Linked DNA regions of Homo sapiens: all the other regions are linked to region 4. The links are contacts of gene promoters, found by promoter capture Hi-C in blood cells and fetal thymus (Javierre and others, 2016). All regions are on one chromosome and are shown on one strand. The core of a region is centred on a gene start or on the middle of the fragment in contact, and the rest is flanking DNA. Distances in the headings are between cores, read along the strand shown.

Region 1 (3,544 bases), core at 10-2,509, 340 kb before region 4:
GGGCATTTGGGTCTGTTTTGATCAAACAGCATCACAATGAGGCAACAAATAACCAAGTACATACATGGTTTCATCCGTGTGCAAGTTTATCGTAGCATAAATACCTCCTGTTGTATTTGTACCTCCAGTGTGCATTTGTAGTTTTGATAGTTTTTGCCAAACCAGCTCCTATGGAAGTCAAACCAAAGTACATTCCCACCAGCAATACAGGCAGATAGGAGAGACCGATTTGGTGGGGCAAGCCAGCGGCATCCCTAGGAATTTGGGGTGGGGAATTCACCTAGCTTATTTAGCTTTCCTCAGTGCAAACATACAGTAAACTTCTTATGGGAAAGGGGCTTGGGGACTTTTGGCACACCTTGTGCAGGGGCAGTGGTCAAATAGCAATATCTATCCCTGTGTAGGAATGAAGACGTGAAAGACAGTGTCAGGAGATTGAGGCCACCAGGTGGGTTTCCCCTGGGGTTCTCCCAGCAGCCTCCTGTTGGAGCCCACTCTCCTTCCCCAGGCTCCCTGACAAAGCTGCCGAAGGCTCCTTCTCTGCTCCCTCAGCCCAAGTTATCACCCCTCAACCCACCTTCAGAACTGGCCTCTCAGGAGTCACTTCTCCACTCGGGCCCCATCCTACAGCCCTCTCCAGGCATTAATCTTACTGGCTGGCCCCCTTGGCTCTTTTAACTCTCTGCTGTCTGTGGCCACCAAGCTTCTTACTTCTTTGACCCCCAGAGGACTTCATTCTGACCTCTGCCTGTGCATCTCTGCTCATTCTTCCTTTTCTATTCTTCAAGTTCGACAGCTCTTCACGGTTTTCACCTTGGTCCATTTCTCTTCCCATTCTGTGTGCTCTTCCTATTTTACTGTTTTATTATTTTTACCACAAAGTTTCTTATTTTTTTCTTTATTTTTCTTTTCTTTATTTTTATTTTATTCTTGTCCTTTTTTCTTTTCTGCTATTTTTTTATATTTTTATTTTTGATTCATTTTATTTATTTATTTTTGAGACGGAGTCTTGCCCTGTCTCTCATGCTGGAGTGCAATGGCACGATCTCGGCTCACTGCAACCTCCGCCTCCTGGGTTCAAGCAATTCTCCTTCCTCAGACTCCCGAGTAGCTGGGATTACAGGTGCCTGTCACCACGCCCGGCTAATTTTTTTTTCTTTTTTTTTTTGTATTTTTAGTAGAGACAGGGTTTCACCATGTTGGCCAGGCTGGTCTTGAACTCCTGACCTCAGGTGATCTACCCGCCTCAGCCTCCCAAAGTGCTGTTCTGGGGTTACAGGCGTAAGCCACCGTGCCGGCCAATTCATTTTAAATAAACGTTATTGAGGTATAATTTACATACAATAAAACTCATTCATACATTTTAAGCATTCAGTTGGACAACTTTTGACAAATGCATGCACCTAAACAAGATATAACACCTGTCCATCACCCCAGAAAGTGTTTTAGTCCCCCACTTGCAGTCACCTCAGTCCCAGTTCATCGTTGATCTGCTTTCTGTAACTATAAATTAGTTCTCTTTGTTTAAAAATTTTATATAAATGAATCATATGGTAGGCACTCTTGCATCCAGCTTTTATTTTACACAGTGATTTTAAGACTCATCCATGTTGTTGCATCTATTAGTAATTTCAATCTTTTTATTACTATCCCTTTCTATGAAGAGAACAAATTTTGTTTACCCATTTCCTAGTTGATGGATTACTTGAATTGTTTCCAATTTTTAGCAATCGTGAATAAAGCTGTTACGCACATTTGGATACAAGCCTTTTAAAAAGGCAACCTATTATTCCAATGTAGACTTCCACAAGCTTTTGAGCAATCAAATCCAACAGCATTATGGTGGCCACTAGCTACTTACGCCTATTCACATTTGTGTACAAGTCTTTTTGTGGGCCTATGTTTTTATGGTACTTCAGTAAATACATAACAGTAGAATTGCTGGGTCAAATGGTGGGTGTTTGTTTAGATTTAAAATAAACTCCAGTAGTTCTCCCAAGCAGTTGTACTATTTTATTTTATTTGTATCTTTATTTTTTGAGACAGGGTCTCACTCTATCACCCAGGCTGGAGAGCAGTAGCATGATCACAGCTCACTGCAGTCTCGACCTCCCTGGCTCAGGTGATTCTCCCACTTCAGCCTGCTGGGGTAGTTGGTATTACAGATGCATGCCACCACACCCAGCTAATTTTTTGTATTTTTAGTAGAGATGGGGTTTTGCCACATTGCCCAGGCTGGTCTCAAACTCCTGGGCTCAAGCAGTCTGCCCGTCTTGGCCTCCCAAAGTGCTGGGATTACAGACGTGAGCCACTGCATCCAGCCTGTACTATTTTAAGTTCCTGCCAGTGAGCTAGGAGTTTCAGCTGCCCTACATTCTAACCAATACTGGTATTACACATCTTTTTATTTTCAGCCATGCTTGTGAGTGTGAGGTAGCATCTTACTGTGGTTTCATTCTGCATCTCCCTGAAGACTACTGAGGGTGAGCATCTCTTCCTGTGCGTGCTGGCCATTTGCATGTCCTTTGTGAAGTGTCTGTTCATGTCTTTTGCTCAGTTTTCACTGTTTGCCTTCCTATTAGTGAGTTGTATGGGTTCTTTATGTATTTGGAATGCAAATCCTTTTTCAGATACAGGTGCTGTGAACATTTTCTCCCAGTCTGTAGTTTGGCTTTTCACAGCAGGAAGTTTTCACCCTGATGAAGTCTGACCCTCTGCCATGGTGGGCCTGGCCTCCAGCCCCCACTCACTCCTTTGGGGTCTCCTTTAACTCATTCTTTTAAAAAAATTTTAAAATAATTTTTATTGATATGGAACTTTTCATGAATTCGTGTGTCATCCTTGCAGGGGCCATGCTAATCTTCTCTGTATTGTTCCAGTTTTATTTATTTATTTAGAGACAGAGTGTCACTCTGTTACCCAGGCTGGAGTACAGTGGCGTGATCTCGGCTCATTGAAACCTGTGCCTCCTGAGTTCCTGCTTCAGCCTCCCGAGTAGCTGGAATTACAGGCATGCACCACCACGCCCGGCTAGTTTTCATAGTTTTAGTAGAAACGGGTTTCATCATGTTGGCCAGACTGGTCTCGAACTCCTGGCCTCAAGTGATCCGCCCACTTCAGCCTCCCAAAGTGCTGGGATTACAGACGTGAGCCACGGTGCCCGGCCTTCATTCCAATTTTATACATGTGCTGCCAAAGACAGCACTTTGACTCCTTTCAATCCTTTGCTTTCCTGCTTTGCATATCAGCTTGCCCAGCTCTTGCACCCAGTCTTGCATAAATCCCTTCTCAGTGCTCAATTTTAAAAAAAGAGAGAGGGCGGACGCTCCTTGGAAAGGAGAGACGATCTTTCAGTCCTTCTCTCACAGTTCTTTCTCTTCCTCCCCATTTGCTCTCTCCTCCCCAGCCCTGCACATCATCTCTTCTTTTCATTCTCTTTACTCCTCCTTTACTTCCTCTCCCCTTCTAAGTCTCATCTATCTTGGGCCAAAAATTAGCTTTTTAAGGTAAAATCAGGTCCCCTTCCCCATAAAGGCTTTTATGC
Region 2 (3,269 bases), core at 572-3,071, 320 kb before region 4:
TGGACCCCCTGGTGGGATGGGGCAAGGCCATGCTGCAGAAGAGCATGTGGGAAGGGAGAGATTTTTGTGGCCATCTTTGGAAGACACAGTTGGCCATAGTGACAGAGGCAGTATTCAGACCCAGGCAGTCTGACTTGAGAAGCTGATTGCAACCTCTATGCTGCCTCCACTTGAGAACACATTCTGAGAATTCTTGACGTTTCTAAGGGACTGGAGAGCCAGCAATAATGGCAAACCTAAGAAATGCTATTTTTGTTTATTATGACCTCTTTTTAATGTCCAGACTGATGTGGCTGGGTGAATTACAGGTCTCAAGCAGATTCCAAAATGTAGAGACAGTAACCTTGATGTTGACTTTTGGAAAATTATAGAGCAGAGCGTGACATAAACTCATTTGTGAACAGCAGGGAAAAAAAATGCAGTGATGGTGAGGTGGGAGAGTTTGGTGGGGATGAGCTGTGCCCAGCTGTGGTGGGTGGCATAATGGCCCCCTAGAGATATCAGGTCCTAACCCTTGGAGCCTATAAATGTTACCCTGTAAGAAAAATGGGTCTTTGCAGAAGTGAGTAAGAATCTTGAGATAAGAGATTATCCTGGACTCTCCTGTGGGCCCTAAATGCCATCACAAGTGTCCATATAAGACAGAGTTAGACTTGACTCACACTCAGAGAAGAAAGCCATGTGAAGACAGAGAAGAGAAGGATTTGAAGACACTGGATGTGAGAATTAGAGTGATGTGGCCATAAGCCAAGGAATGCTGTAGCTCCCAGAAGCTGGAAGAGGCAAGGAACAGTTTCTCTCCTAAAGCCTCCAGAGGGAGCACAGCCCCACTGATGGATTGATTTCAGTTTGGTGGCACTGATTTCAGACTTCTGGTCTCCAGGACTGTGAGGTAATAAATTTCTGTTGTTTTAAGACCAAAAGTTCATGGTAATTATAGCAACCACAGGCAACGAATACACAAACCAACTTTCTTTTTAGACAGTACTGGATAATGGGGTAAATAAATTTGTGTCCAGCCAGCATTTTATGTTACTGTTTTTTTTTGTTTTTTGTTTTTTGTTTTTTTGTGAGACAGGGTCTTGCTATGTTGTTTATGCCAATCTCGAACACCTGGGCCCCAGTGATCCAGTCTCAGCCTCCTGAGTAGCTGGGACTACAGGCATAGGCCACCACCCCCAGCCGGCATTTTAATAAAGGATTGGCAAACTCACTGGTAATGACGGTGTTTTTTGGTGGGATTTATGGCAGATTGCACGTCTATCAGCAAAGTGTTTGCCATCAAGGAGTCCGTTGCCCTGGTGGTCATGGAGTACCAAAGGGCTCTGTGGTGAGCTCTGCCCTAGCCAATCAACGTTCAGTCCACTTTCTGGATGAAGATGGCAGAAAGTACAGGGTCAGATGTGCAGGTGACACATATTGGAGGGAACAGTGAAAGTGACAGCCAAATGGGAGATGAAAGTGATTTCGATAGATTGGAACTTTGGAGTAAGGCCAAGATCAATTGATATCAGAGAAAGTTAGGTTTTAAAGAGAAATCTGGTGTCCAAGCATAGAACCAGTTGAGGAGGTCTGGGCGGTCTGGGCGGTGTGTGTGAAAAGAAGCTCAGGGTTTCAGTCGCCACCAGCGTGGTGCTGTTTTTGTAAGGGGAACCTAATTTGGGGCACTATGGGACGATAGTGTCCAGTTCATAGAAGCAGATGGTCCCAGGGTGATCACGGCTGGTTGAAGCATACTGAACTACTTTGCTTCATTTTTAATACCCCTCCCCTTTTTGAAAATGTGTAGCAGGACAATATGGGATCAGGAAACCAAGTGTTCTGACTCTGCATTGTCTGCCCCTCCGTGTTCATTCTCTGACCTCCTCTACTCTGACCCCAGGAGGCTGACCTCTCTGGACGAATATTAGCTAGCTAATGCTGTGGAACAAATCATCCCGTGGAACAAAACATAGTGGCCTAAAGCAACAATAATCATTTAATGTCTCACAGTTTCTGTGGGTTGGGAATCCAGGAGTGGCTTCTGACTCATGAGGTTGGCATCAAGATGCAGCTGGGTTTGTAGTCACCTGAAGGCGTGGCTGGGGCTGGAGATGGCTTCCCACCACGGATGATGAGTTCGTGTGGCTGTTGGCAGGAGGCCTCAGTTTTTCACCTTCTGGACGCCTGCACAGGGCTGCTTAAGCAGCCTCACAACATGGCAGCTGACTCTCGCCATCGTGAGTGATTCAAGAGAGAGCAAGATGGAAGCCGCAATATCTATGATGACCTGGTCACAGTCTGTCATTTCCACAACTGGTAACACAGGTCAGCCCTATTTAATGTGGGAGGGGACTACATGAGGGCAGGATTGCCAGGAGGTGGGGTGCATCTGGAAGGCTGGCTGCCACAGGAACAGTGGGAGGGGATGTGCTGTGGCCAGAAGAAAATCAGGACAGACCAGAGCTGGAGGGTATGATCTGCCCCAACTCAGGTTGGCCAAGTTCAAGCCCCAGTTCCGGGATGGAGAGCTCCATGCCTTGGCCCTGCCAGTGGGACTTCTGCATGTGCTGGGAGAGAAGAAAGGTTTCCTTTGAGCCCTGCCAGGATCTTGTTACAGTCTCCACAGAGCAAGACTTCAGGGTCAGGGTGTTGCATTATGAAGACAGGAGCCGTGGAGCCTCCAGCAGGAGACAATGGCTTCCATTGAGATAATATGACTTAACGAGGCCACAAGTCCACAGCCACCACTCAGGAAACAATAACCATTTCAAGAGGGCACAGGAGGTGTTACAGAGAGGCGTGGTGACACACCCCACCCACCGTGGCCTCAGAGATGGTGCTAAGGGAGAAAGTTTGCTGGGATTTGTCTGAAAAGGTCAGTTATTAAAAACAGCTTCTGGCTGGGCGCGCTGGCTCACACCTATAATCCTACCAGTTTGGGAGGCCGAGGTGGGCGGATCACTTGTGGCCAGGAGTTCAAGACAACGCTGGCCAACATGGTGAAACCCTGTTTCTAATAAAAATACAAAAATTAGCTGGGTGCGGTGGCATGTGCCTGTAATCCCAGCTACTCAGGAGGCTGAGGCAGGAGAATCGCTTGAATCCGGGAGGCAGAGGTTGCGGTGAGCCAAGATCATACCACTGCACTCCAGCCTGGGTGACAGGGCAAGACTCTGTCTCTAAATAAATAAATAAATAAAACAGCCTCTTAAAAACACAGCGGCTTCTGACCTTCATGCACTTTGTTATTGCTCAGGCCAGGGTGGTGCTTTCCTGATTCCTTTTCC
Region 3 (3,239 bases), core at 46-2,545, 460 kb before region 4:
AAAGCAACTAGAAAGTTCCAAAGTGTAGAATTTTCCTTGAGGATGTATGGCACGAAGCTTGATTTGCTATTAGGGGTAAAAAAATGGAAAACAACAAACCCTTTTTGATAACCCAATAAACAATATTTTTCGGACTAGGTAGGACAGGCTGATGGTACAAAATTCAAAAGGGCAGACGGCGAAAGCAGTCCCCCCTCTCCTCCACCAGCCACATTTTAAAAAATTATCCTTTCCTTTTGTTGTGAAATAAGTAACACGTACAAAAGTATACATATAGGTACAGTTTAAAGACAAATCTGCGAAATACTCATGTACCCAGCAGCCAGCTTATGTTTTTGTTTTGTTTTTTTTCTGAGATAGAGTCTCGCTCCGTTACCCAGGTTGGAGTGCAGTGGCGCCATCTCAGCTCACTGCAACCTCTGCCTCCCAGATTCCAGCGATTCTCCTGCCCTGGCCTCCCGAGTAGCTGGGATTACAGGCACTCGCCACCATGCCCGGCTAAATTTTTTTTGTATTTTTTAGTAGAGGTGGGGTTTCACCATATTGGCCAGGCTGGTCAGCAGCCAGCTTACGAATGAGGCTTATCTGCATTATGTTGAGCTGTATCCCATTGAGAACTTAGTCTATCTCGGCTAATCCTCACAGCAGCCATGCAAGAGCTATGACACCCCTGTGACAGGTGAGGAAACGGCCTTTCGGGCTGGAGCAGCCGCCCCCGTTTCAGTTAATAAGCAGCAGATCCGCAGCCTGGCTCTTCGGTGGCCTTGGACTCACAGTCGTGTGGGTGTCAGTAGGTTAATGACGTCTAGCGCATGGGTGGTGCTCTTCAGTTCCCATGTCCTGCTTTAGACACAGGCACGGTTGGCCTTTGCGTGAGAGCACCAAGATGGGTGAGCCTCAGTGGTGGGAGGGGCCTTGGCATCAGTCCGTCTTGCCCAGGGCTCCTCTCTGGCCACCCACGTCCCCCTGAATGTGTGGGTGATGGGGGTGCTCTGGGAGGGAGGTGCTTGTTCCCAAGCCTAGAAAGGGTCACCAAGGGGCTGCCGCATGGCAGTGCCCGCACCAGTGAATGAGGGGTGAATGGTGGCGTTTACACTAGCAAATGGGGAAGCAGAAGTGCTGGGGCACAGAGCAGTGCATTTGGCAAAAGTCAGAAGTGCCATAACTGGAGCTTTCTGGGCCTATGTCTCCTTTCCATCTCTGTCTGCGAGTCACTCCTCTTCCAAGCCAGGCTCTAATTCTACCCACTCCCTGGAAAAAAAGCCCCCACTGCCATCATCTCTCTTGTTTGCATGATGCAGGGCTTTGGAATCTTCTAGCGTTTGCTATCCAGGCCTTGCTGGGTACTCTGCTCATAGAAGATGCTCAGAGGCTGTGTTGACTGAAGAGAGGAAGGAGATGTGGCCCTGTGCACATGGGGCTGAGTGGTGGCCTGGCTGGCCTCTCCTCGGGGGCAGATCACCTTTGAGGATGGGAACCTCCAGGAGTTTGTTGCATCCAGGTTAAAGCCTGATGTTAAGTGTGCCAGCTTCCCCATATTTTTAGTTTGGATGTTTTAAAACAGTAGTCGGTTATTTCTACTAACTAGTGAAAGGAGCAACTAATCTCTGGGTGGATTTCTGCTCTGATGAGCTGAAGGTTGGAAATCGGGTTTGCCGCTTGATCTACTGGGTAGTGGGAGCCAGCTGCTCGCTGCTGCATGGGCCCAGAAGGCCGGGAAAACACAAAGTCTGCATTACAGTGCAAACATGAAAGCTAGAGCGGGCGCATTCCTTAGGAGAGGAGTCTGTAGTCCTTGCCTATGTGGAAAACTAGTCCCAAAGATGTGGCCTTTCTTTCCTGGAACCAACAGAGTTCATCCATTCATTCGATATTTTGATTTTTAAAATATTGCCTTAAAACTTTCTTAACCTTGATTGGTGAGGGTTGGTTTGTTTGTTTTCTGTTTTTCTGAGACAGGGTCTCACTCTCGCCCAGGCTGGAGTGCAGTGGTGCGATCATGGCTCACTGTAGCCTTGAATTCCTGGGTTCCAGTGATCTCTCCCACCTTAGCCTCCTGAGTAGCTGGGACCACAGGGGCATGCCACCATGCCCAGCTAATTTTTTACTTTTTTGTAAAGACAGGGATCTCCCCATGTTCGCCAGGCTAGTCTCGAACTCCTGGACTCAAGAGATCCTCCTGCCTTGGCCTCCCAAAGTGCTGGGATTACAGGTGTGAGCCATGCACCCATCCTAGAATAGTTTTAAGAGAAAAGGTGGGAGATTCATTGTCATTACACTGCCCAGAAGGAACCACAGTTAGTACGAAAATTATTATTATTAATACTGGCAGGTGGTTGGAGATGGGAAGTAGTACAGACAGGGACGCAATGGCAAGTGTAAGCCTTCACCACCCTCCAGACCGTCTCTCCAGAACCCCAGGTTTATGTTTCGGAAACATGTACATCCGTGCATATGCCAATGTGAATGTGCATTTATTTAGAACTCTCGTTTTCATACTTGGCTGCACACTAGAGCCTCCTGGGGAAGCTTTAACAAATTCTCCTGCTCAGGCAACACCCAGAGATGACATATATTTATTAATCTTAAAATACATATGTAGGCCGGGCGTGGTGGCTCATGCCTGTAATCCCAGCACTTTGGGAGGCCGAGGCAGGTGGATCTCCTGAGGTCAGGAGTTCAAGATCAGCCTGGTCAACATGGTGAAACCCGGTCTCTACTAAAAAAATACAAAAGTTAGCTGGACATTGTAGCAGGCACCTGTGGTCCCAGCTACTAGGGAGGCTGAGGCAGGATACTCGCTTGAACCCAGGAGGCAGAGGTTGCAGTGAGCCGACATTGTGCCACTGCACTGCAGCCTGGGAGACAGAGTGAGACTCCTTCTCAAAAAATAAAATAAAATAAAAATGTACATATATATAATTTGTAGAAAATGTGAAGGATCACAAGAAACTTGCGAGTTAGGACTAGGGAAGGAGAGGTGCATGGGGTGACAAAGGGATCTTTTCTGTTTTATTTTTTTTAATTTACTGCTGTTTTTCACCATAAAACTGGGGGGTATATTACTTTTAAATTTAAACAACTATTAATAGTAACCTTTTGTTATTTATTTTGTTTATTTATTTATGTATTTATTTGAGACAGGGTCTCGCTCTATTGCCCAGGCTGGAGTGCGGTGGCACTATCTCAGCTCACTGCAACCTCTGCCTGCTGGGTTCAAGCAATTTTCGTGCCTCATT
Region 4 (3,683 bases), core at 970-3,469:
CGTTGTTTGTTTTTTGTTGGAGGAGACATCTGAAAACATCTAATCTCATCCTGAAGCGCCCAGCTGGTTTCAAACTGCTTTATTTCAGGTGCTTCTAAAAGACTTGGTGAGTACAAGGAAGTGATTCTGCTAATTTAGAACAAACCCATCGGTAGTTAAAATTTAATCTTAAAAGAAACTTGGAACCAAGCATCTAACCAAAAGAGCTAAAAGCAAAGTGCTAGACTCTGGGATAATACCCACAATATTCTCTAATCACTGAACTAAACAAAGATGCTCCTGCGCTCATAAGGCTAAAAACAAAAATAACCTTTAAAAATGGGGGGTCTATAATCTGAACTCTAAGAGTAACTTGTAAGGTCTTCTTGATCTCCCTAAAGCCAACAATTTTGAAGCGTATTTGGAAATCGCTCATTTCTAATTTTTATTTCTCCCACTCCTCACAAGAACCAGGAAATATAACAGACCCTTCCTTCCTTGAATTTAGTTAAGCTTTAACTAAAACTAAGCATTTAACTAAAGGTAAAATGTTTGGTCTCTTATTTTCAAACAGAAAAATAAAGTCTGTATTAGCCACTCAATAAAAAAGCATAATGTCAAATCAGAAGTCTCTAGAGCAGACCCTAGTCAGCTTCAAAGCACTTTCACAGAGTGAATGGTCTTAAGCGTACCATAACTCAAAGCCCCTAGATTAAGTCTTTCAGTATAAAGTAGCATATACATTTAAAATGTTATTAAATTTCTAATAATTAGATATTAAAAAGACTCAAGATGCTGATACTTTGTAGCTTACAGCATTAAACCAAAGAAGAACCAAAAACTGAACAGTATCAAATCCCTATTACATACATATCTACAGTCATCAAGAAACTACCGGTTTATCTTTTCTTTCACTAAGGGGCCGCCTGCATGTTCACGGAAGTTGTAGTAACTTAAGAAAACCAAAACTGTTATACAGTGAAAACAGTTTGTATGCAGATAAGCTGGTACCAACTGCTTCTAGACAGATGCAATTACAGTGTAATATTTCTAGCAAAGTCTGGTAAGGCTACGCCTGCAAATCACTGACCAAAAATGGTAACAGTGTGTGCACACTAACGAAAACGACAAAATGTTCCAACTGATAGTTCAGTTGAGAATACGTTTTTAAATAGCTAATTAGAGTGACAGTGTAAAGGGGGAAAATATGTAAATTAAGCAAAATGTCCATCATATAGAATATACTAATGAGCACCTGTTTACTTTCTGGTGACTCCAGTATTTTAATGGTTTTTAAAGCTCTTAAATTTGGTTGTATCAGCATCCCAGCATCATGCCCACACCTTGCGCACCAAGTTCTGGCAGAGTCCAACTGTCTACAGGTCAGAAAAAAAATTCTAACCATACACGGACAGATCGGGCAGGGAAGGGTTAAAACAGACACTGCCAAGCTTGACAAGCACGACGAGAGTGCTGCTGGAAGCCGATTGCCAGATAAAAAGAAAAAAACAAAGGAGCTGCAAGGCCACCCCGTTCTAAATCATGCCAGGATCCTGCTCGTTAGCGATCATTCCGTGCTCTAGGACTGTTCCATAAAGGCTTTATCTTCCTTATTGAGATGGACAGACCTCAAGGGCTGGAACGCGCACAAGTCACCAAGCGCCTCAGCGCCAGCTCTGGGGAAACCCACGCCAACAAGGACGGTGGCCGGATTCCGACGCCCCCCGCCCCCCACTCCCCGGCCTCGGTGTGCAGACCCCCGGATGGATTTCACAGAGCGGGTGGGGGCGCTCGACCCCAGCCAGTTGTTGCAAGGCCGGGTCTGGAGACACCCGCAGAGGCCACGCTCAGGGCGGCGGCCTCGCCCCAGCTGGGAGCTGCGCAACAGCCGCGGATCCACCCCGGGGCGCGGGGGCCCAGCCAGGACGGCGGGAGACGGAGGCCCAGAGACCCCCCCTCACCCGCAGCCCGGACACTGCAGCCGGACCGGGTCCCTCCCCGGGCTGAGGCACGGCTCACCCCCTTAGCCCCGACTCCGCGGCGCCCCAGAGACACACTGCTCCCGGCCGCCTCGGCCCACGCCTCGGCCTCCCTCCTACTCACCATCTTCGCCGCGGCGGTCGCAGGGACGCGGGGGAGGGAGCCGGCGGGCAGCGAGTATGCAGACCGTCCTCCTCACGGCTGCGGGACCGAGAGACCCAGCGCTGAGCTGACGCGGCGGCGCGAGCTTACCCCGGGGCGGGCGCGCCTCAGGACGGAACGCGGCTGCGCACGTCACGCACCGCCTGCCGTTGCTACGCAACCAGCCGGCCAGGCAACGCCCCCCCGGCGGCTATCCAGAGTCTCGGAGGGGAGCTTCCCTCATCTGCTGAAGGCTGCGGGGCAGGGTCCGCCTCACCAGAAAGTGTTTAGGGGTGGGGGTGCGTCCTCTCTGGTCTGCAGGAGGCTAGAAGGCGGACTGGGCTGGCTCCTGCTGGCGAGGGGCGGGCAAAAGATGATGGGGGAGGGGTGGCCTTCCTTCGCCTCCTCGGCGGGGCCACCTGACGCCCCACCCACTGTGCAGGCATGGCCCGCGCGGGGAGGCAGCCACCTGGCCAGGTGTGCCTGCCGCTGGGGCGGGGCGAGGCCGTGGAGGGGAAAAGGAGGGGAGAGCCGGGGGAGAGGGGTACAGAGTGTGGGAAGGAGGGGGATTTGGAGGGGAGAGGCGAGGGGCACATAGTTGGGGGAGGAGGAGGATGGAGAGGGGAGGGAAGAGGTGAGGGAGAGGGGACAGTGTGGGGAGAGGAGGGGGATGTGGGGGGAGGGGCGAGGGGGCACTTAGTGGGGGAGGTGGGGGCAAGGGGAGAGGTGAGGGAGAGGGACACAGTGGTGGAAGGAGAGAGATGTTGGGGGTTGGGAGGGCAGGGCCCGAGGAGGGGGAACGCACTGGGGGAGGACCCACGGGAGCGGAGTCGCGGGCCGCGGCAGCGGGGACGCCTCCCGCATTTTTTACCTACTTTGGTGCGATTCCCGCCGCCCTCCCCTGATTGGCCCAGTCTGGCTTGTCCTGCCCTCGCGTGAGGGGAAAAAAGTCTGCACATTTTTCCTCCTTCCCGAGGCGACCGTGGCCATGCAGAGTGCTCTGTGAGTCACCGTTAATTTCAGGTCTGGAAAAACAAGGAGCATTTATTTATCTTTGGGAACTGCCGGGGAAGGAGGCCGGCGGCGCGCAGGGGTGTGGCTGGGAAAGGCCGCGCTGTCCCGGGACGGTGGCGCCAGCCCCGCCGCTCAGTTCTCCGGGTTTTTAATTTGGAATTGTGTTTTTCTAATGGGCGGTTGCGTCGGAAACACGGTTTTCAGAGGGCCCAGATGAATCCCAGCGTTTTTGCTGCGGGTGTTTTTGTGGGAAATAAAGGGAACAAAGAATTTTATAAATTAATTTAGGTTACCGAGAACATCATGGCCTCGACCAAAACTATTTTAATTCTCCAAATATGAGACTTTTGGACAAGATGGTCAGTATTTTTTTTTCCGGCACTACGTAAAATCTAGGTTGTATGTGGCTTTTGTTCTGCCCCACTCAACATAGGAACCCATTTCTCATTACCCTCGTTCTTTTTAAAAAAGACAGTAAGTTGTGCAGTTCTAAGCCTTTACCACCTGAGACATGATTTTTGGCGGGCTAGAGCAGTGGTTCTTTAGCATGCATCAGAATCACCTGGAAA
Region 5 (3,350 bases), core at 535-3,034, 430 kb before region 4:
TTTTTGTGGCACAGGAGTGACTGGAGTTTGGGAAATATGAGTTTGCCCAGCAGGGACTGAACTTTTTCATTATGATGATAACAATAAAACAGCTACTACTATGTTATGTGCCAGCTATTTCTAGTCTTTATGAATACCCTATGAAGTAGTTATTATTTTACCCATTTACAGACGAGGACACTGAGGCTCAAAAGCTTTAGATAACTTGCCTGGGTCATGCTGTTAGCATGGTGGGTTGTAAAAATGGGCCCATTGTTCCCTTTCCTGTTCCACAGCCCTTTGCCATGTGAGTTTTTGGCTCCTCTCTGCAAGAGGTGGAATTTATTTCTCTATCCTTTGGTCTTGCCTTGGCCACATGACCTGCTTTGGCAAACGAGACATTAGTCAGCACGGCCCAAGCCGAGGCTTGTGAAATGCTGTGTGCTGGGGCTTGTTCTGCTGCTGTCCGGAATCCTTCTGCTACTGCTGCGTGAATGAGAGCCCAGGTTAGCCCTCTGGAGGATGAGAGTCACCAGGCCCAGGCATCTCCATGGCCCCAGCTGACACCAGGCCAACCCTCAGACATCTAAGTGATGACATCCTAAATCATCTAGCCCTACTTGAGCCAGCACAGACCAGAAATGCTCAGCTTGACCTCAGAATCATGAGAAATAAGTCGTAAACCACTGAATTTGGGGGTGATTTTTATTTACTTGTTTTTGAGACAAGGTCTCACTCTGTCACCCAGACTGGAGTGCTGTGGCACAAACATGACTCACTGCAACCTCTATCTCCCAGGCTCAAGCGATCCTCCCAACTCAGCCTCCCAAGTAGCTGGGACCACAGGCATGTGCCACCACAACCAGCTAGTTTGTTTTATTTTGTTTTTTTCCGTTTTTTCTAGAAGCGAGTCTCACCATGTTGCCCAGGCTGGGTGATTTATTGCACAGCAAAGCTAACTGATAGTGTTAGTGAGGAGAAAAGATGGGGCTGGACCTGGATTTTCTCCCTCCAGCCTTTCCCATGTCAGCAAATAACACACATGCCCTAAACCTACAACTTACCTTCCATTTATACTTCTTCATCACTCATCTCATTCAAACCCTCAGGCAAGGCTCCCAAAATACATCTCGAATCTTCCTTCCCAGCACCTCCTCTGCCATTTCTCTAGGCCAGCCTACCTCTTCTATCATCTAGACTGAGAGTCGGCAGACTTACTCTATAGAAGTCCAGATAGTAAATACTTGAGGCTTTGCAGGCCATACAGCCTCTGTTACCGACTTAACCTGCAGCTACAGAAGGAAAGCAGCCAGAGTCAAAAGCAAATGGGTGATGCTGTGTTCCAGGAAACCTTGACTTACAGACACTGGAATTCGAATCTTTACAATTTTATAAAAATTATATATGCCATAAAAAGACTCTACTTTTGATTTTTTTTCCAAACATTTAAAAATGTAAAAACAACTCTATGCTCACAGACCGTATAAAGACTGTATCAGGCAGCAAGCCGGATTTGGTGGATGAGCCAGTGTGCTGACTCCTATTATAATAGCTCTGTCTATAATAGTCCAGCCAGGCTGTGCTTCAGCACTTGCCTCCTGCATTCTGCTCTCCAAACAATGCTGATCTGCTTCTGCTGCTGCTGCTGCCGCCGCCGCCTCCTCCTCCTCCTCTTCTTCTTCTTTTTCTTCTTCTTCGTCTTTTAAATAATTTTAATTAAATTAGGCCAGGTACGGTGGCTCATGCCTGTAATCCCAGCACTTTGGGAGGCCGAGGCAGGTGGATCGTTTGAGGTCAGGAGTTCGAGACCAGCCTGGTGAAACCCCATCTCTACTAAAAATACAAAAATTAGCCAGGCATGGTGGCGTTGGCATGCACCTGTAATCCCAGCTACTCGGGAGGCTGAGGCAGGAGAATCACTCGAACCTGGGAGGCAGATGTTGCGGTGAGTCGAAGTGGCGCCATTGCATTCCAGCCTAGGCGACAAGAGCAAAACTCCATCTCAAAATAAATAAAATAAAATAGATAAGATAAAATAAAAAAAAATAGAGGTGGAGGTCTCACTATGTTGCCCAGGCTGGTTTCGAACTCCTGGGCTCAAGTGATCTCCTGCCTTGGCCTCCCAAAGTGCTGGGATTACCGGTGAGAGCCACTGCACTTGGCCCCGCTCTTCTTAAAAGGCAATGGAATGGCTTTATTCCCCTGCTTATCCCTGTCTTTCCATCTTAGAGTAAAATCTAAACTCCTTACCATGGCATATTGAGTTTGACATCATCTGGCTCCCCCGCCCACTTCTGCAGCCTGCAATTCCTTTCCTTTCCCCACTGCCTTCTGGCCACCCCTGTGTTCTTATAGCTCCTGTAACATGCTGTTCTTTCCTACCCTGGGGCCTTTGAACATGCTGATCCTTCTGCTGGAATATTCTTCCTGTGGCTCTCTGCAGTGCTGGCCACGTTTCCTCCTTTCCTCCTTCAAGTATCATGTTATGTGTCGCCCCTCAGAGGAGCCCTCTCTGACCACACAATCCAAAGTTGCAATTCTCCTCCTGGCTCAGTGATCCTCTGTTTCTTCATGGCACTGTCAATCTGTAATTTTCATACTAACTTTCTCACTTATTAATTGTTTGCCCTTTCTCTAGACTGTCAGCTCCATGCATTTTGCAAAAAACTAGCACAAGGCAGACATGAATATTCAATAAGACATTTGTCGGGTAAAGGAATGAATTACCACCTATGATGGTCAATCTTAGGTGTCAGCGTAACTGGATTAATGACACCCAGACAGCTGGCGAAGCATTATTTTGAGGTGTCTGTGAGGTGTTTCTGGAAGAAACTGGCATTTGAATCAGTGGACTGAGTAAGGAAGATCCATCCTCACTCAATGTCAGGGGGCACCGTCCATCAGCTGAGGGCCAGGATAACAAAAAGGCAAAGGAAAGGAGGATTTGCTCTGTTTTCTGGAGCTGGAACACCCTTCTTCTCCTGCCCTTGGACATCAGAACTCCAGCTTCTCCAGCTTTTGGACTCTGGGACACCAGTGGCCTCCTGGATTCTCAGGCTTTCGGCCTGAGACTGAGTGCTATCAGGTTCTCTGGTTCTGAGGCTTTTGAACTTGGACGGAGCCATGCTACCAGCTTCCCTGGTTTTCCAGCCTGCAGACAGCAGACCGTAGGACTTCTCAGCCCCCATAATTGTGTGAGCCCATTCCCCTAATAAATCCCCTGTCATATACCTATATCTACAAGCCCTATTGGTTTTAGCTCTCTGATTTATACACCGTCTAACTACAATCCCATGACTTTCTTCAGCATCGCATCCTTATCTGTACTGCCTCATTAATCCTATTTTGCAAGTCTTGTTTCACTGCGAGAC
Region 6 (3,523 bases), core at 293-2,792, 410 kb before region 4:
GGAGATTTAAGAAGCAGTCATGTCCGGGTCTACTTCAGACCAACTAAATGGATTGTAACTGCATATATCACACGTCTAAAACAAACAGGCCAGGCATGGTGGCTCATGTCTGTAATCCCAGCACTTTGGGAGGCTGAGGTGGGTGGATCACCTGAGGTCAGGAGTTCGAGACCAACCTGGCCAACATGGTGAAACCCTGTCTCCACTAAAAACAAAAAATTAGCTGAGCATGGTGGCACATGCCTGTAATCTCAGCCACTTGGGAGTACAAGACAGGAGAATCGCTTGAACCCAGGAGGTGGAAGTTGCGGTGCCGCACCATTTCACTCCAGCCTGGGCAACAAGGGTGAAACTCCGTCTCAAGAAAAAAAATAAATAAACAAATGAATCTGTGCATCTGCCTAGAACAGCTCTGTAATATACAAAGAGGCACATTTGCTGCAGCACTGTTTGTAATTGTGGAAAACTAGAAATAATCTGAGTGTTCCCAATAGGGAAATGGGTAAGGCTCATTCATACAAAAGAATACAAAAAACGAGTTAAGAGAGAAGTAGGGCCAGGTGCAGTGGCTCAAGTCTGTAATCCCAGCACTTTGGGAGGCTGAGATGGGTGGATCACCTTAGGTCAGGAGTTCGAAACAAGCCTGGCCAACATGGCAAAACCCTGTCTCTATTAAAAATACAAAAAAAATTAGCCAGGCACCTGTAATCCCAGCTACTCAGGAGGGCGAGGCAGAATTGCTGGAACCTGGGAGGCGGAGGTTATAGTGAGTCCAGATTGTGCCACTGCACTCCAGCCTGGGCAATAGAGCGAGACTCTGACACACACACACACACACACACACACACACACACACACGAGTAGTAGATTGGGCAAGGTGGCTCACGCCTGTAATCCCAGCACTTTGGGAGGCTGAGGTGAGGATCATACTTCCTTCCCAGTTCTAGATTAGTCTGGGCAACACAGCAAGAATTATTTCTATAAAAAAGTAAAAAAAGAAGTAGATCAAAATAATAATGTAACATCTACTGAATACATAGTATGCATTAAGCACTCTTCAGGGAATATCTCATTTTATAACAAGGTAGGTACTACCATTTGTCTTATCTTAAAGATGAATAAATTGAGACAGAGAGCGACTAAGTAATTAATCTAAGGTTAAGATGAAAAGCCAAGCCAGAATCCAAACTCAAGCAGCTGGCTCCTGAGCCCAATATCTTACTAGCTTTGTGATGCTGTGTATCTAGAGATGTCTGTATATTATGACTGTCACAGTTCTGCATGAAATCATACATAAGTGCTGCCTATGCATGTGTATTATACATAGCATTATGTGTGTGCTAAGAGTATAGAGGGCACATATTCTTAGGTTCTCCTGATGCTGTGTCACAGATCATTGGTCATTAAAAAAAGAAAAGAACAAAAAAGAGCGTAGAAGGCAGACTAGAAGGAGGTAGTGCCAAACTTAAAACAGCAATCGCCTTTGGCCACGGGTGGTTCAACAGAATTTGGGGTTAATCTGTAATATTATATTTCTTTAAAAAAAAGATCTCCATGTAATCACAGGGATAAGGAAAAAAAAAGTTTTAAGCAAATGCACCAGTGTTAAGTGTTAATTGTGGGTGGTGGAAAATTATTACATGAGAAAAGAATGTTACAGATCTATATAAACTAATAAAAGATTTTTTTTTTTTTTTTGAGATGGAGTCTCACTCTGTCACCCATGCTAGAGTGCAGTGGCGTGATCTCAGCTCACTGCCAGCTCCGCCTCCCGGGTTCACGCCATTCTCCTGCCTCAGCCTCCCAAGTAGCTGGGACTACAGGCGCCTGCCACCATGCCTGGCTAACTTTTTGTATTTTTAGTAGAGATGGGGTTTCACCGTGTTAGCCAGGATGGTCTCAATCTTCTGACCTCGTGATCTGCCTGCCTTGGCCTCCCAAAGTACTGGGATTACAGGTGTGAGCCACTGCGCCCAGCCTGATTTTTTTTTAAATAATTTTTTTAAGTGGAAAAAAGCAGGGTATATCATCTTGTGTTAAAAAATGAGTGTGGGGACAAATGATTGTACATATGGTCATACAATATCTCAGGAACACAGGAGCTTTTTAAACAGAGGTTCAATACAGAGTGGGTGTGGGGAGTTACTCTTAATAGCATATTACCCATTAAAAATTCAGTGGGGTCGGGCACAGTGGCTCACACCTGTAATCCCAGCACTTTGGGAGGCCGAGGCAGGCAGATCTCCTGAGGTCAGGAGCTTGAGACCAGCCTGGCCAACATGGTGAAACCCCGTCTCTATGAAAAATACAAAAATGAGCTGGGTATGGTAGCAGGCGCCTGTAATCCCAGCTACTAGAGAGGCTGAGGCAGGAGAATCACTTGAACCCGGGAAGCAGAGGTTGTAGTGAGCCAAGATCTCGCCATTGTACTCCAGCCTGGGCGACAACAGCAAAACTCCTTCTCAAAAACAAAATCGGCCAGGCATAGGGGCTCACGTTTGTAATTCCAACACTTTGAGAGGCTGAGGTGGTGGATCACTTGAGCCCAGGAGTTCAAGACCAGCCTGAGCAAAATGGTGAGACCCCACATCTACAAAAAATAGAAAAATTAGTTGGGTGTGGTGGTGCATCCCTGTAGTTCCAGCTATTTGGGAAGCTGAGGTGGAAGGACAGCCTGAGCCTGGGGAGTTAGAGACTGCAGTGAGCCCTGAATGCATCACTGCACTCCAGCATGGGTGACAGTGAAAGACTGCCTCAAAAAAATAAACTAAAATAAAATAAAAAATTATTAGGCCCGGTGCGGTGGCTCACACCTGTAATCCCAGCACTTTGGGAGGCCGAGGCGGGCAGATCACGAGGTCAGGAGATCGAGACCATTGTGGCTAACACGGTGAAACCCTGTCTCTACTAAAAATACAAAAAAAAAAAAATTAGCCGGGCGTGGTGGCATGCGCCTGTAGTCCCAGCTGCTGGGGAGGCTGAGGTAGGAGAATGGCGTGAACCCGAGGCGGAGCGTGCAGTGAGCCGAGATCGCGCCACTGCACTCCAGCCTGGGTGACAGAGCAAGACTCCATCTCAAAAAAATAAATAAATAAAATTAAAAAAATAACAAAAATAAAAAATTCTTAGCTGGGCGCGGTGCCTCACACCTGTAAATCCCAGCACTTTGGGAGACGGAGACAGGCAGCTTGCTTGAGTTCAGGAATTCTAGATCAGCCTGAGCAACATGGCAAAACCCCATCTCTACAAAACATACAAAAAAATTAGCTGGGCGTGGTTGTTCGCATCTGTGGTCCCAACTACTCAGGAGGCTGAGGTGGGAGAATCGCTTGGGCCTGCGAGGTGGACGTTGCAGTGAGCCGAGATCATGCCACCGCACTCCAGCTTGGGCAACTGAACAAAACTGTGTCTTAAAAAAAAAAAATTCTAGGCTGGGTGCAGTGGCTCACACTTACAATCCCAGCACTTTGGGAGGCTGAGGCGGGCAGATCACTCAAGGCCCGGAGCTCGAGACCAGCCTGGG
Region 7 (3,641 bases), core at 339-2,838, 480 kb before region 4:
CCCCTGGAGAGAAAGTGACAGATTCTCATCCAGTCTCTTAACAAATATTTTAGGCAAACTCTTCTGCCTCAGGCACACAGGGCCGTTGGAATCCTGGATTAAAGGAAGACGTAAACCAATCTTATTTCCTAGATTAGTTGCCTGTGTGCTGGGGGAAGGGGGGCGGGAGGCACAGTTCACTCCTGAACCGTTAAGAGTCTTCTTTCCATAGTTTCCAGGGGAATTTTTATTTACTGGGGATGTTTAGGTTCCCTCTTTCTGCCTCTACCCCCAAAAAGGAAACATTTTGGTGTTAATATGCTCCAAGCCTCCAGAATTATTATCAGCCATGGCATTGGCAGTTTTCAAATGACTGACCAAATTGCCTGTGACTTAGCACGTTGTATAATTATAAAGTTCTTTCCAAGGCATGCTGAACTCACAATTTCTCTAAGAATTAGTTTCTTTTCTTTTCTTTTCTTTTCTTTCTTTTTTTTTTTTTTTTGAGATGGAGTTTCGCTGTTGTTGCCCAGGCTGGAGTGCAATGGCTGGATCTTAGCTGAGTGCAATGGCTGGATCTTAGCTCACTGCAACCTCTGCCTCCCGGGTTCAAGTGATTCTCCTGCCTCAGCCTTCCGAGCAGCTGGGATTACAGGCATACGCCACCATCGCCGGCTAATTTTGTAATTTTAGTAGAGACAGGGTTTCTCCATGTTGGTCAGCCTGGTCTTGAACTCCCGACCTCAGGTGATCCGCCTGCCTCAGCCTCCCAAAGTGCTGGGATTACAGGCGTGAGCCACCGCATCCAGCCAAGAATTAGTTTCTTAGGCAGTGGGCTCCCAGGACCACAAGAAGGGCAGGTTTGAGCTATTGCCTGGCACAGAGAAGCAACACTCTGCCCGTCTAACACCTGGGGTGTGCAAGGCAGCAGGAGGTAAAAATGCTCCCACCCTGGTGTTCCTTCCAGAATCATCTGGCAGTAGCGGTTAATCATATAAGCTCTGGCTTTGTCACTTCTTAGCTGTGGACCTTGAGCAAGTGGCTCACCCCTCTGAGCCTCGGTTTCCTTATCTGTAAGATGATAATGATACCTACTTGATAGCATCGTGAGGATAAATGAGTGGAGGGTAGAACATGGTATGTGCCCAATAACCATAGATAGTATTCAGGTTAATAGGGAGACACAAACATTATTAACTCTGCTGCAGGACAGTGAATGTGAAACCAGAATTCCAAACAAAGACGTGACCGATTTGAGTGGGGAAAGTGTCCTGATGTGGATTTGAAGGCTGGGGAGAAGGGAGGCGGGTGGGCCTGAGGGCAGTGTGGGCTGAGTCCCGCAGCTGGAGCATAGAAAGGATGAAGCTCTGGTGGCTGAAGATAGGAAACAGGGCTTGCTGGGGTCAGGGAGAGAGTTGGCGGTAAAGAGCTGGAAATGTAACCAGGACAGGGTGAGATGGTGAAGGGGCCAAGCCAAGAAATATGGGTGCTCCTGCTGGGCAGAGGAGAAGCTCTGGATGATGTAAGAAGGAAAACCTCAATCGGGTTCCTCTTTTTTTTTTTTTTTTTTGAGACAGAGTCTCTCTCTGTCGCCTGGAGCTGGAGTACAGTTGCGCAATCTCAGCTCACTGCAAACTCTGCCTCCCAGGTTCAAGTGATTCTCCTGCCTCAGCCTCCCAAGTAGCTGGGATTACAGGCACCTACCACAAAGCCTGGCTGATTTTTGTATTTTTAATAGAGACGAAGTTTCGCCATGTTGTCCAGGCTGGTCTTGAACTCCTGACCTCAGGTGATCTGCCCACCTTGGCCTCCCAAAGTGCTGGGATTACAGGTGTGAGCCACCGCGCCCTGCCATTTGGGTCCCTCTTAACGGCTGTGTTCATGGATCATTATCTCTTCTGAGCCTCAGTTCCTTGATCTGTAAAGTGGAGGACTCAAAGAATCAGCCTCCTAGAAGAGTTGCATAGATTAAATGAGATAGTGGGTGTAAAGTGTTTAGCTTTCTGTGCATGTGTAAACTGCCCAAGAGGAAGTTAGCTGACAGTGACATACAGCAAGTTTTAATGCCCAACATTTTGTTGGCTGTAAGGACATGGGATTCACTAACTTGATCGTGTTGATGGGTGGATCTGGAAAAGGAGTCCGAGGTGCAGATTAGGAAATGTGGCTGGCCCTTCCCAGCCTACCTGCCTTTTGACGGTGTGCCTCAGGGCAGATTGTGAAATTGTCTCTTTACTACTGAGAATTCTGTAATTTGCCAAACAAATAAGGGTGAGAAGATGATGTACATTCCAGAGAGTGTGCATGGCAGGTCCCTTTTGTGCTGGATCCATCTGCAGGTCTTCAGCTGCGGGGTAGAGAAACCCAGGAAATACTAATCACCATTGTCCTTTGGAGGCTTATTAGAAAGTAAGTAACTCTGAAGTTGGCTGATAGTATTCATACGTGATTCTCTGGCTGGTAGGACCCAGGTCCAAGTATGGAGTACCAAGTGAATTTGTCCTCTCACCCTTTCCTATTCTGTTCTTTCTTTTTGTCCTCTCCCATGGGTTCTTCAAAATAAATTAAGTTTAGATTCTTTCAAAAGTATGCTTGGCCTTTTACCCGGCTCTCTATCGAGTCTTGTAGTGGTGCAGATGTGTGTCTACGGAGTAGTCCCCATACCCCCATCACTTTGTATTATTTACAATCTCAAAGGCATAGTCATACGTATCTGCCACCCAGCCCCAACAACCATTAACCCATGGCCAGTCCTGCCCAGCCACACTCCCACCCCTTGCCCCATGCATGATTCTGAAGCAAATCTAGGACATCATACCATTTCAACCATAAATAGTTCAGAATGTGCGTTTAGTGGATAAAGACCAAAATTCATGATCACACCCACATTACCAATTGTGTTCACATTACTAATTGTCTCATAAATTAATACTTTTCCCCTCCAGTTTGCTTAATCAGGTCCACATAATGTCCACACATTGTAATTGATTGGCATGTCTTTTGAGCCTCTTTTAATTTCATACATTTTCCCTCCATCAAGTTAATTGTTGAAGAAATGGGTGATTTGTTTTGTAGAGTCCCCAACAGTCTGGATTTTGCTGAGCGCATCACCATGTGCCTAATGTTTCTCAGTCCCCTAGGTTTTCTCTAAACGGATAGTTGGATCTGCAGCTGCAGCATCCAGTATCACATGTGACTATCACAGCCATAGTCAATTAAGAATTAACAATTAGACCAGGCGCCATAGCTCATGCCTGTAATCCCAGCACTTTGGGAGGCCGAGGCGGGCGGATCACCTGAGGTCAGGAGTTCAAGACCAGCCTGGCCAACATGTTGAAACCCCGACTCTATTAAAAAAAAATACAAAAAAAATTAGTAGGGCTTGGTGGCATGCACCTGTAATTCAGGCTACTCAGGATGCTGAGGCAGGAGAATCGCTTGAACCCAGGAGGTGGAGATTGCAGTGAGCCAAGATTGCACCACTGCACTCCAGCCTGGACAACAGAGCGAGACCCTGTCTCAAAATAACAGTTAAGTTCTTCAGTCCTACTAGCGACATTTCAAATGCTAGTAGCCATGTGTGACCAGAGGCTAATGTACTGGACAGTACAGAATATAATTTTTCTGTCACCACAAAAAGTTCTATTGGATAATGCAACTCT

The links. The method cuts DNA at HindIII sites, captures the fragments that hold promoters and counts their contacts. A CHiCAGO score of 5 or more calls a contact.
Region 1: a contact is called between a fragment that was not itself captured here and the fragment with the promoter of DSTN in region 4, in 7 of 17 cell types (M0 macrophages, naive B cells, total B cells and 4 more). The highest score is 8.9, in M0 macrophages.
Region 2: a fragment that was not itself captured here is called in contact with the fragment with the promoter of DSTN in region 4 in 2 of 17 cell types (total B cells and naive B cells); the score reaches 6.4 in total B cells.
Region 3: a contact is called between a fragment that was not itself captured here and the fragment with the promoter of DSTN in region 4, in 1 of 17 cell types (naive B cells). The highest score is 6.2, in naive B cells.
Region 5: a contact is called between a fragment that was not itself captured here and the fragment with the promoter of DSTN in region 4, in 11 of 17 cell types (total B cells, naive B cells, monocytes and 8 more). The highest score is 16.2, in total B cells.
Region 6: a contact is called between a fragment that was not itself captured here and the fragment with the promoter of DSTN in region 4, in 14 of 17 cell types (fetal thymus, activated CD4 T cells, total CD8 T cells and 11 more). The highest score is 11.6, in fetal thymus.
Region 7: a contact is called between a fragment that was not itself captured here and the fragment with the promoter of DSTN in region 4, in 2 of 17 cell types (monocytes and neutrophils). The highest score is 6.2, in monocytes.

The regions. Positions count from the first base shown.
Region 1 is chr20:17,903,122-17,906,665 of GRCh38, reverse strand. It overlaps the pseudogene RNU6-192P. Among named protein-coding and RNA genes, the nearest start is that of SNORD17, 58 kb to the left of the region's middle. RefSeq lists an enhancer at 2,448-2,507. The HindIII fragment of the contact is 1,108 bases long and covers 706-1,813 here.
Region 2 is chr20:17,887,009-17,890,277 of GRCh38, reverse strand. No RefSeq gene overlaps it. Among named protein-coding and RNA genes, the nearest start is that of SNORD17, 74 kb to the left of the region's middle. RefSeq lists an enhancer at 1,457-2,656 and a silencer at 2,539-2,833. The HindIII fragment of the contact is 4,582 bases long and covers 1-3,269 here.
Region 3 is chr20:18,028,691-18,031,929 of GRCh38, reverse strand. All of the region lies in intron 3 of OVOL2 (ovo like zinc finger 2), which reads left to right. Among named protein-coding and RNA genes, the nearest start is that of OVOL2, 28 kb to the left of the region's middle. The HindIII fragment of the contact is 2,472 bases long and covers 60-2,531 here.
Region 4 is chr20:17,568,611-17,572,293 of GRCh38, reverse strand. It overlaps DSTN (destrin, actin depolymerizing factor), which reads right to left and starts at 2,219. Exons shown (of 4, transcript NM_006870.4): 1 at 2,083-2,219. The coding sequence starts at 2,085. It also overlaps a transcript of BFSP1 not described here. RefSeq lists silencers at 1,779-2,068, 2,089-2,278 and an enhancer at 2,689-3,256. The HindIII fragment of the contact is 8,997 bases long and covers 1,433-3,683 here.
Region 5 is chr20:17,998,739-18,002,088 of GRCh38, reverse strand. No RefSeq gene overlaps it. Among named protein-coding and RNA genes, the nearest start is that of MGME1, 31 kb to the right of the region's middle. RefSeq lists an enhancer at 1,663-2,164. The HindIII fragment of the contact is 3,176 bases long and covers 197-3,350 here.
Region 6 is chr20:17,978,984-17,982,506 of GRCh38, reverse strand. The region is part of intron 3 of MGME1 (mitochondrial genome maintenance exonuclease 1); the gene reads right to left. Among named protein-coding and RNA genes, the nearest start is that of MGME1, 12 kb to the right of the region's middle. The HindIII fragment of the contact is 5,928 bases long and covers 1-3,523 here.
Region 7 is chr20:18,051,610-18,055,250 of GRCh38, reverse strand. The region is part of intron 2 of OVOL2 (ovo like zinc finger 2); the gene reads left to right. Among named protein-coding and RNA genes, the nearest start is that of OVOL2, 4.5 kb to the left of the region's middle. RefSeq lists an enhancer at 1,258-1,758. The HindIII fragment of the contact is 9,441 bases long and covers 1-3,641 here.